Linked DNA regions of Homo sapiens: region 1 is linked to region 2. The links are contacts of gene promoters, found by promoter capture Hi-C in blood cells and fetal thymus (Javierre and others, 2016). All regions are on one chromosome and are shown on one strand. The core of a region is centred on a gene start or on the middle of the fragment in contact, and the rest is flanking DNA. Distances in the headings are between cores, read along the strand shown. Region 1 overlaps AP3M2 (adaptor related protein complex 3 subunit mu 2). Region 2 holds the start of POLB (DNA polymerase beta).

What was found. Contacts are between HindIII fragments. The CHiCAGO score rates a contact against its expected background, and 5 or more counts as called.
Region 1: a contact is called between a fragment that was not itself captured here and the fragment with the promoter of POLB in region 2, in 16 of 17 cell types (endothelial precursors, M2 macrophages, M0 macrophages and 13 more). The highest score is 11.6, in endothelial precursors.

The regions. Positions count from the first base shown.
Region 1 is chr8:42,156,168-42,162,003 of GRCh38, forward strand. AP3M2 (adaptor related protein complex 3 subunit mu 2) reads left to right here. Exons shown (of 9, transcript NM_006803.4): 3 at 1,774-1,945. Among named protein-coding and RNA genes, the nearest start is that of AP3M2, 6.0 kb to the left of the region's middle. The HindIII fragment of the contact is 5,361 bases long and covers 1-4,745 here.
Region 2 is chr8:42,337,188-42,342,588 of GRCh38, forward strand. It overlaps POLB (DNA polymerase beta), which reads left to right and starts at 1,307. Exons shown (of 14, transcript NM_002690.3): 1 at 1,307-1,498; 2 at 1,825-1,882. The coding sequence starts at 1,438. It also overlaps the pseudogene RPL5P23. The HindIII fragment of the contact is 11,887 bases long and covers 1-4,614 here.

The sequences.
Region 1 (5,836 bases), core at 815-3,314, 180 kb before region 2:
ACTGGTGAAACTGACAGCCGCTATATGGCCATACTAATGTAACTTATTACAAGACAGGAAGTGAGAAGAGTTGTTTGATCTAGTTGAAACCATGGGGGAATTTGGGAAAGCAGAGTAAATTTGCTAATTTGGAAGTCTGAGACTTCAGAGCTTGTTATTCTTGAAGCAGTTGTTAAAAGTCAGTGGACATCCTGATTCTCAGGTCTCCGATGTGGATGTGCATCCTCTCCGGCAGCATGATTTTTCCAGGACCAGAATGTGACAGGAGCGGCCCCGCAATAGAATTGCAGGCTCACAGGCCGGCTGCAGCACTTGGCTGTATTGCGAGGCTCCTTTCCAGCTGCTTAGTTCACATGATGCCTGGTTTATAAAACCTAGTGAAGTGTTTTATTTTTTAAAAATAAATCACTTTTGGGAAGGAAATGTGTGACTTTTTCTTCTTTTAAATTATCATTCAAAATGAGAATTTTCCTCTTAAAGAGGAAATCTTTTTGTTTTAGGAATACATTCCTGACTCTTAGGTGACCCGGGTATTGGAATCTTGTGGATAATTGACGTTATCTAATGTAATTTAGACTCTAGTAGAGTCTGTTCAGTTTTGGATGTCAAAGAAATGGAAAGATGGTGAAACAACCTGGAAACCATACCTTATCATGAACAGCGGAAGTATCTTGAAAGTGTGGCCCTGAGAAGAAAAAAACTGAGGTGAAAACTCGTAGTTTTCAGATAATTGCAGGGCTGTTATGTACACTTGCTCTGCAAAACAGAGCTAGGAGGCAAATTTCAGTTTAGCAAAAGAAAGAACTTTGGAATGATCAGAGCCATTCATGAATAGAATGGACTTTCTCAAAAGGAGTAAATTTTCCTTCATTCTATGAGTTCAAGAGGGTTGCATGACCCTCTCAGAGGTCCTGGAAAAGACATACTGACATTGCTGGAAGGGAACATTGAATAGCCACAAACATTTCTTGCTAAATAATGATCACGCATTCCATTTTGTAGTGCTTTATAGTTTACAAAGTACATTCATGAGCGTTAGTGTTTAATTAGTCATGCCTAATTCTTACAGCCCTGTACCTCCAGTGGTGTTATCCTGATTATACCATTAAAGAATCAAGATCAAAATTAATTAACATGACTTAATCTACAAATGACAAAATTATAATCCAGGTCTTCTGGTTTGAAATCCAGTGCTTTCCCACAATGCAGATAATTTAGCACCTAACGTTAGCCTTTTAAATAAAAGGACAAAGAGTTCTTGGAATGCTAGCGTCTTAAAGATAGTCCAAAGGAATTTTCAGGTGTGCTAGCTTGTCCCCTTCATTTCATTTTTTTCCCCTCAACTCTTATTCACTGCATGAATGTTAAGAAATAGCACAGCAGTAGGGGTAAAGATTTTCATGTACTGTTCTTTGTTATATCAAGTATTATTTTGTATAATTCTTTCAAATTCTTGTTGATAAGCACATAATCAAGATTCAATTTTGTATTCTGTGTATTTTATCAAGTTGAGGAAATTAACCCAAAAGATTTAAGTTCCTCTTGTTTGTAGAAGAAGCTAGTAATGACAGTAGTACCATAAGCCAGTCTAGTGCTTTCTACCAAACAGACTGCCTAAGAGAACTATGGTTATGCTGCATTCCCTCGTTGTAGAAGAGTAGCCCAGAAACACATGGACAGGCCAGATCCTTATTCTCTGTAGGCACATTCTTTTATTTATTTATTTATTTTACAGTATCTGAGTGATCAATGTGTATATTCTGTCTCCATCAGGATTATTTTGGAGTCTGTTCAGAGCCAGTGATCAAAGACAATGTAGTTGTGGTTTATGAGGTATTGGAAGAGATGCTTGACAATGGTTTTCCATTGGCTACCGAGTCGAACATTCTTAAAGAACTCATAAAGCCTCCTACCATCCTTCGAACGGTTGTCAACACCATCACAGGTACGGCAGAGGGGGAAACTGATAGATAGTGGCCATCCTACAGCCTGAGTGGCTTAGTCGAGTGTCGCACATTGTTTTGAGTGTTTGTCTTTGGGGATCTCAGGTGTCCCAGTGCTTTAATTTTGCTCTTTGTAGTTGTTTTTTTTTTTTTTTTGAGACAGAGTCTCCCTCTGTCACCCAGGCTGGAGTGCAGTGGCGTGATCTTGGCTCACTGCAACCTCCGCCTCCTGGGTTGAAGTGATTCTCCTGCCTCAGCCTCCCGAGTAGCTGGGATTACAGGCATGCACCATCACACCCAGCTAATTTTTGTATTTTTAGTAGAGATGGTGTTTCACTATGTTGGCCAGGCTGGTCTTGAACTCCTGGCCTCAGGGGATCCACCTGCCTCGGCCTCCCAAAGTGCTGGGATTACAGGTGTGAGCCACCGCGCCTGGCCCCTCTTGTAGACTGAGTACAACCTGAAATAATATTTTTGCTTTGTGGAAAATACCCTGATTTTAATGACAAAATGAAGTGTTCTTTAAAAATATTTTTTTCTGATTACAGAAGAAACACATGATTATTGTAGAAACTTCAGAAATACAGAAAAGCACAAAGAATGCAAAAATTGCTTTTAATCCCACCACACTTTTAACATGTGATATTTTATGAACATTATCCCATGATGATGTCTTCTACATGGTTCTTTTTTTTTTTTTTGAGATGGCGTCTTGCTCTGTTGCCCAGGATGGAGTGCAGTGGTGCGATCTCAACTCACTGCAACCTCCGCCTCCCAGGCTCAAGCGATTCTCCTACCTCAGCCTCCCGAGTAGCTGGGATTACAGGCACACGCCACCATGCCCAGCTAATTTTTGTATTTTTTAGGAGAGATGGGGTTTCATCATGTTGACTATGCTGGTCTCTAATGCCTGACCTCAAGTGATCCACCCACCTTGGCCTCCCAAAGTTCTGGGATTACAGGTGGGAGCCACTATGCCTGGCCTTCATTTTTAATAATTTATAGTTTTCTTCCATGTGGAGTGGACCCAAAGTTACGTACTGAATCCCTATTTATGATGTTACTGATTTTTGTTCTTTTAAATAACAAGGATTACCATTCTTACACTTGAACCTTGGTGCACATCTGGGATGATTTCTTTAAAGTAGTAGAGGTAGCAATGCTGTGTCAAGGGGTGTATACATTTTAAGTACTGTAATGTGTTGCTCTCCAGAAAAGTTAGGCCAATTTATACTTTCAGTAACAATTTCAAAGCACTGTAGTGAACCCTGTTATTGTCATTAATAATTTTTTAGAAACATTGGCAATTTGATAGTTTATTGATATCTTGTATTTACAGTCATTTTTTGTTATTAAGGAGACTAAAATCTTTTCAAGTATTTATTGACTGTTTTTCCTCTATTGTGAATTACCTTTTCATGTCCTTTGTTCATTTTTTTGTTGTTGAAATGTATTTCTTTTTTCATGTGGATTTAAAATCTCTTTTATGGGAGATCTTTATGTCTTTTGATTACTGCATTACAGATATTTTCTTACAGTCTATCACTTGTGATTTAGCTTTGTTCTGGTGGTGTTTAGCCACATTTTAAATGTTTTGATTTAATCAAATTAATCATTCTTTTCATTAAGGTTTTACATTTTGGGTCTTGTTTAATGCATAAGCAAGCATTTTCATGGAATTTTATAAACTGATTGAAAAATACATTTTAAAAGTATAAATATTGCAAGAATAGCCAGGACAGTTTTGGAAAAGAATTACAAAGGGGTTGTTGGGAGGATTTGCCCTGTCAAATATCACGACACGTTAAGTTTGTATAGTACACAAGACAAATATTCATACAGTAGACATCCTACAAGACCCAAGAGAGTTTTGAAAATAATATTTTTAAAAAGAGGAAAGATAAAATGTGTCCTACCAGATATCAGATATATTACAGGTTTAACATCCCAAATCCAAAATCCAGAATGCTCTACAATCCAAAACTTTTTGGATACTGACATGACACTCAAAGGAAATGCTCATTGGAGGATTTCAGATTTTTGAATTTGGGATGCGCAACTGGTATAATCCAGATATTCCAAAATTTAAAAAAATACAAAATTTGAAACATTTCTGGTCCTGAACATTTCAGGTAAAGATTACTCAATCTGTATGAAGTTTGGGTAGTTTTTAAAATTTGGTATTTGTCTGTAACAGACAGATAGGTCATTGGGATAAAATAGTCCAGAAACAGACCCTTGCTTTTATAGGAATTTGGTGTAGATAGATGTGGTCATTTATCAAATCAGTGGACCAGGGGCTGGTTGTTAACTATATTGTATTAGGGCAGTCAGCTTCAATATGGAAAAAATTAAGTCCCTCCACTTCACACTATACACAAAATAAAGTCTAGCTAGGTTAAGGAGTTAAACACAGACTTTATAATTATTAGACAAAAACAGGAGAATGTCTTTTTGATCTCAGAGAAGGGAAGATCTTTTTTAAAAGTCTAGTTTGTGATTTTATTTTTGGATTTAATTATTTAATCCATTTGAAAATTATCTTGGTGTGCAATAATGTTTATTTCTTCAAGAGTTTTCCTAGCACCATTGTGTAATTTATCCTTTTCCCCTGTTTTAGAATGACATTTCTATCTTGTCCTGTCATTATGGATTCTTGGTCTGTTTTTAGGCTTTCCTGCCTTTTCCCTAGACTGCTTTGATTATTATATCTTGATGATACATTTTAATACATAGTTCCTCTTTTTAAGGAAACAAATTTGGTGGTTTCTTCAATATTCTGAGTTCATTTTAAGCCTTAAAAGCTTTGTTAGTGCCTGAATCATTTACGAATATTATGAAGTGAGTTAAGCCTGTATCTCACTTTAATCTAGAAAAGGGTATCTAAGAACCACTTTTGAAAAGTTGAAATGGGCCTGACATATTGGCTCATGCCTGTATCCAATACTTTAGGAGGCTGAGGCGGGAGGATCACTCATGCACAGGAGTTCGAAATCAGCCTGGGCAACTTGATGAAACCCTGTCTTTACAAAAAATACAAAAATTAGCCAAGCATGGTGGTGCATGCCTGTGGTCCCAGCTACTCTGAAGGCTAAGGTGGGAGGATCACTTGAGCCCAGGAGGTCGAGGCTGCAGTGAGTTATGATTGTGCCTGTGAATAGCCACTGAACTCCAGCATGGGCAACATAGGAAAACCCTATCTCTTAAAAAAATTTTTTAGGTGGGCATGGTGGCTCACATCTGTAATCCCAGCACTTTGGGAGGCCGAGTTGGGTGGATCATTAGGTCAGGAGTTCAAGACCAGCCTGGCCAACATAGTGAAACCCCGTCTCTACTAAAAATACAAAAATTAGCCGGATGTGGTGGCACGCGCCTGTAGTCCCAGCTACTCGGGAGGCTGAGGCAGGAGAATTGTTTGAACCCGGAAGGCAGAGGTTGCAGTAAGCCAAGACTGCACCACTGTACTCCAGCCTGGGCGATAGAGCGAGACTCTATCTAAAAAAAATTTTGTTTAAAGACAGAAAATAAAAGGATCCAGGTAATGGAAGAAGGAAATAGAATTTAAATTAATGTATTTTATTATGTCAGTATAAAACCTTTTAAATTAAAAAAAGTTTATGCCTGTAAAGGAAAAAACAAGTGAAGGAATTGATCTACAATTCTTAAAGACAGGGAGAGATCAACTTTGTGTTCTTTTCCTAAGTTTCAGTGTTGGAACTTGGGAATGAGACAGATCATATTGATATGTACATTTTAGTACCTACCATAAATGTACCTAAGAACCTATCTCAGGCTCAAATACTGTTTTTACCCATGAAATTTTTATATCAATATGTAGATTACGAACTCTACTGAAAGCCAATACATTATTTAAGCTGCATCTGAGATACTAA
Region 2 (5,401 bases), core at 57-2,556:
CACTGCAGCTTAACTAATCAGATAGTTAAGTTGCAGGCATAAAGTTTTTTTAACTTTTATTCCTCAAGTAATAAATTGAGGAAAATACAAATATGTACAAAATTTTTACAAAAGCTATCCATAAAAGGGCAAGTAGTAATATATAGAAAAGATCTACCAGATTAGTAACAAACTACCCCCATTAGGAAAATGGTAAATGATATGAATAGGAAATTCAAAAAAAGAAGAATTACAGATTTCCAATAAGCATAACTTAAGATATACACTGATATTGTAAGGAAACACAATCACCACAACCTTGCTAATCAAAGAAACTAATGATATTTATTGGAAAATAATGGGAATTTTTAATAGACTGGGTTAGAAGACTAGAAGTGTACGTCCCAAAATATTAATAGTTCAGCTGTAGGGTGAGATCACTGATTTTAATTTTCTCCTTTTATACATTTTTCCAGATTTCTCTACAGCAACTACGTATCATTTTGTAATAAATTTTAATTTTTCGATGCACAAAGCAATTGCCTGGAATTGCAGTTCGATATGAACCCAGGAGTTACGCTTGTAAAATAAACTATTGCTGATGTGACATTTCCATTTCTCAAGCAGACTGTAAATTTCTCAGATGTAGGTCATCATGTTATAATTAGGGTTCCATTGCTCATGATCTAGATGAAACACTTCTCCCTTTCTTGTGGTCTCTTCATTAATTTGGTCCCTACCGCAAAGGCAGGGGGATTAAAAATAAAATATCTTTTGACACTGGTTGGCAGGTGTACTAACACGTGTGCGGGAGGATTCCTGTTCTCGGCATGGTTCACGCCGGGCTCCGGCAGCGCCCTAGTACGTAAGGGGCTGCACTGGAGTGTGGACTGCCCGGTATCCTTAGAGAAAGTTTTGACAGTGTGACGCCAGTGTCGCCTCTAACCACGTACAAAACGCGCCATGCATTGGGTAGCTATTACAGTGCACATTTTTGTGCAGGAAGCTACCCCACCAGCGCAAGTATTTCAGAATCAAGATCGCACTCCCGTTTCCCCTTCTAGGGAAAGGATTCCAGATAAACACTGAGAAAACAGATTTAATATCTTAGGTCAAAACTCCAGGTCTTCCCATAGGAAGGCCCCTGGGCTGTCATTCTGAGGTGCCTATTTCCCCCGCGCCGTGTCCACGTCCACGAGTCCACGAACCCTCCGAGTTCTCTCTCCTCACCTGCCGAGGGCTCGCCCCTCTAGCCCCGCCCCGCCCCGCCCAGGACGCGTGACGTCACAACAAGCGCCGTGCGCCCCGCCCCCCATCGGGGGCAACCATTGTTCCGCCGGTCGCGCCGGAGCTGGGTTGCTCCTGCTCCCGTCTCCAAGTCCTGGTACCTCCTTCAAGCTGGGAGAGGGCTCTAGTCCCTGGTTCTGAACACTCTGGGGTTCTCGGGTGCAGGCCGCCATGAGCAAACGGAAGGCGCCGCAGGAGACTCTCAACGGGGGAATCACCGACATGCTCACAGGTTAGCACCGGGCCGGGCCCCGCTGGCTTTCTTCTTTCCTTCCAGCCTCTTCCCCTGCCTTCCTTCTCTCCCACACCGACAGTCCAGTGGGTAGGGTAGGTTCCTTGCAGCGGGTCGTCTTCCGTGGGGATCTCCCTCCGGCGCCCCTGGCTGGTTGTCAGTCCTGCCGGCTACACCTGGGCCATCGCTTGGGCTGCTTTTGGTCTGGCCCTTGGAGGAAACGGGTGGTCACTGTCTCTTAGAGGCTGCCATATCCCCTTCCAGAAAACAGTTCTCGTTTGTTTACTCGTGGTTCTTGTTCACCCGAGCCTTCTGTTGCCTTTCAGAACTCGCAAACTTTGAGAAGAACGTGAGCCAAGCTATCCACAAGTACAATGCTTACAGGTGGGACAGTGCAGCATTCTCGGGTAGCATACGTTCTGGGATACCCTGTTTAGTGTGGCAATTAACAGGACTGAGGGCCCAGTGGATATTTGGTCCATCTGCAAGAGCGGGAAAAAGCAAGAATCGAGGCTGGTACCTTACTATTTCTTGAAGAATGTGGGCAGTGCGTTATAGGATCAGTTCAGATAAGTTCCCAATTCTGATTGCAGATAGCTGTAGCCTGATACGTATTTTGTCATCATCAAACATGAATTACTAGAAATGCGGTGTAATTTTAACCGTAATGAAAGACAGCGGATGAAGTCCATACTGTGAAATATATGTGGTTCAAGGAATCACATTTTTTCTTTTGGTTGGTCTAAAGTTGATCCTGTGGGATCCTGATCCTGATCCTTGTTCCTTGTTCATGGGATCCTGTCCTTGTTCATCTCACCAGGGGCCTTATCCTATTCATTCTTTCCACATCCACCTGCTTCTACTCCTTAGCCTATATTTATTTATTTATTTATTTTTATTTGAGACGGGGTCTCGCTGTGGTATGATCATGGCTCATTGCAGCTTCAACCTTCCAGCCTCAAGTGATCTTCCCATCTCAGCCTCCTGAGTGGCTGGGACTACTACAGGCGCACGCCACCACACCCAGCTAATTTTTTTTTCTTTCTTTTTTTTTCTTTTTTTTTTTGTAGAGACCGGGTTTTGCTATGTTGCCCAGGCTGATCTCCAACTCCTAAACTCAAATGGTCCACACACCTTGGTCTCCCAGAGTGCTGGGATTCCAGGCATCAGCCTCGGTGTCAGCTCTCCTTAGCCTATAAATATGTGCAAGTCCCTCAGCTCTTAAAAGCAAAACCAAAACAATCTTAACTTCCCTCTAGCTAGCACCTTCCCTCTTTTCTCACTTTATGGTGAATCTTCTTGAAAAATCTTCATTCCTTGCCTGGACTTCTTAATACCTAATCATTTACTCAAGAAGTCCCAGTCCTTGCCTGGACCTACCAGTGCTCTGAAAATCCGCTCACCTACGTCTCATCTTATTGGACTCTCTGTGGCATTCACCCCTGGCTCATGCTGTGAATATCTCTTGACTTCTGTAATGGCACTCTTTCTGGTCTTTCATCTCTTCTTCTGTCTTACCTTTTAATGTTGGTATAGGTTGAGCATCCCTAATCTGAAAATTTGAAATGCTCTAAAATCTGGATGATTGCCGACATGATGACACAAGTGGAAAATTCCACATCCGATCTCATGTAGTAGGTGGCAGTCAAAATGGTCAAAACTTTGTTTCATGCACAAAATTATTAAAACGACTATATAAGATTACCTTCAGGGTATGTGCGTAAGGTGTGTGAGAAATATGACTGAATTTTGTATTTAGACTTGTATCTCCCATATCCCTAAGATATCTTATTATGTATACGCAAATATTCCAAACCCTGAAAAAAATTCAAAATCTGAAACAATGCTGGTCCCAGGCATTTCAGATAAGGGATAGTTAACCTGTGGTTCCGGGGAGTCTGCCTGCCCTTAGCCCTCTTTTCTTACTTCTGTAGTTTCCCTGGCAATCTTGCCATTCTTGACTTTGAAATGCCACTTATGTCAGTGACTCCAAATCTGTGTATCACTGGACTTTTTTCCACATTTTTAGCCCTATACTGTCTTTATCCCAAGTCAGCTCCCTTCTTCCATTCCCACTCCACACAGTTCAGAGCTGATTGTGCTCCCTCCTTTCCTTACTTCTGTGACTTCCTCTGTAAAGTAAAATAATTGTATTATCATCCATACATTTGATGATTCAAAATTACAGAGATATTCAACTTTGTATTCTATTTGGATCACAGCAGGTCTCAGAAAGGAGGTGTTTAGTTTGAAGAAGCTCATCGGGATAAGTGAGAGGGCCAGCAGTCTAGACAAATAAAATGTGCCAAAGCATTGAGACATGAAGGGTATAACGTTTTCTGGAAGTCAGATGTTCAGTTTGCTTAACGGGTATGGTATGAGTGGGAAATAAGTCTGGAAAAGCAGGTGATTCCCTACCACTCCTGCATGCTCCTCCCTACCCCAGTAGACATTTCTGTTGATTGTGGCCAAAGTATTCTTTTGAAAATAGTTATCTGATCTTGTCAGTCAAATAATTAAATAATATTTTCTCTTTACCTTGATAAAACCCAAATACATCATAGCATACAAAAGGCCTTTCATCTGATTCTTCTTCCCTTTTAGGCTTTGCCTCACAGTGCCAATGACCTGGAACTACTTGCCTTTCCTGAAATGATCCCCTCCATAAACTGTGTTTGCCTGCTCCTTTACTTATAAATATGTCTTTTCAGATTCATCATCAGTCATGTGCTTAGAGAGAAGTTCAAATCCAAATATAAAGGGTTATTTGTGCTATAACAGAATGCAAATCCAAGGTTCCAAAGACTATCCAGTGTTTATGCTTTTGACTTAGCTGTACTGTCACTTCTCATCAGCATCAACTCTGAATTACATTTTGCATTGAAATTATAGACAGAATACCGTCAGCGAGCTCCCAGGGTGTATCCAATCTGTCACCAGATTAACAAACTGGATATGTGTGGAGGTGGGCAAGAATTACAGGTCACCGCTTTATGCTGAACTGCAGTGGGAACAATTTTTTTTTTCTGTCCATAAGTTTATTGTCTTTATCTGAAAAATCCTCGTAGAAAATTGTTTGGTTTAGCTCTCTGCAGCCCCCTCCTGAGCCGTGGGGAAGCTTGCCTTCTTTTGAGCTATGCGATCTTTCTTCTGAGCAAGGGACATTTTGGGATGGTTCCACCTCTTTTTAACTTCTTTCTTGAGCTTCTTTTCATAGACTGGATTCTCTCCTATAGCAGCATGAGCTTTCATCTCCTTCATCATGTCTGAAGTTATGCTATTCTTTATGTATTGAGAGAACTGTTTCTTGTAAGCATCTTTATCTTCCATTAAGTAGTGCATGTAATCTGCAACATTCTGGCCTATGTTGTGCTTCTGGTGTAATTCTGCATTGAATTCCTTGCTTTCAGAATCATAACCAGGGAATCATTTGGTACTTTGAGGGATAGACAAGCCTCCATCCAGGTCACCAAAAACTTTATTGCCAGTGGTAGTTCTGGCAAGGCCTGCATCCAAATAGCAGGTGAAAGCACCTGGCTGACCATCAATGCTTTCTACATTGTATTATCGCCAGTCACCTCCACTTGGCCTTCATAGATCTTGTCCATGCCAAACCTATTGAGAAGCCTGTGGGCCAGCAGCAGGCCAGTACAATATGTTGCAGCATAATTTGTCAGGCCAACCTTCACACCATATTTTGGCAGTTCGTGTGCATATGCTGCGCAGACTATCATATCCCCCTCTATACGGGCATAAGCAATCTGACAATTGATATCTCTGTTTGTTATATGAACTATCATCCTCTATTTGGGTGTGTTGTATTTATTTTTATCCTGTATTACCAAGCGTTTCTGAGCATAGTAATCAGTTTTACCATCTTGTCATCTTTAAGTTTCATTTGGT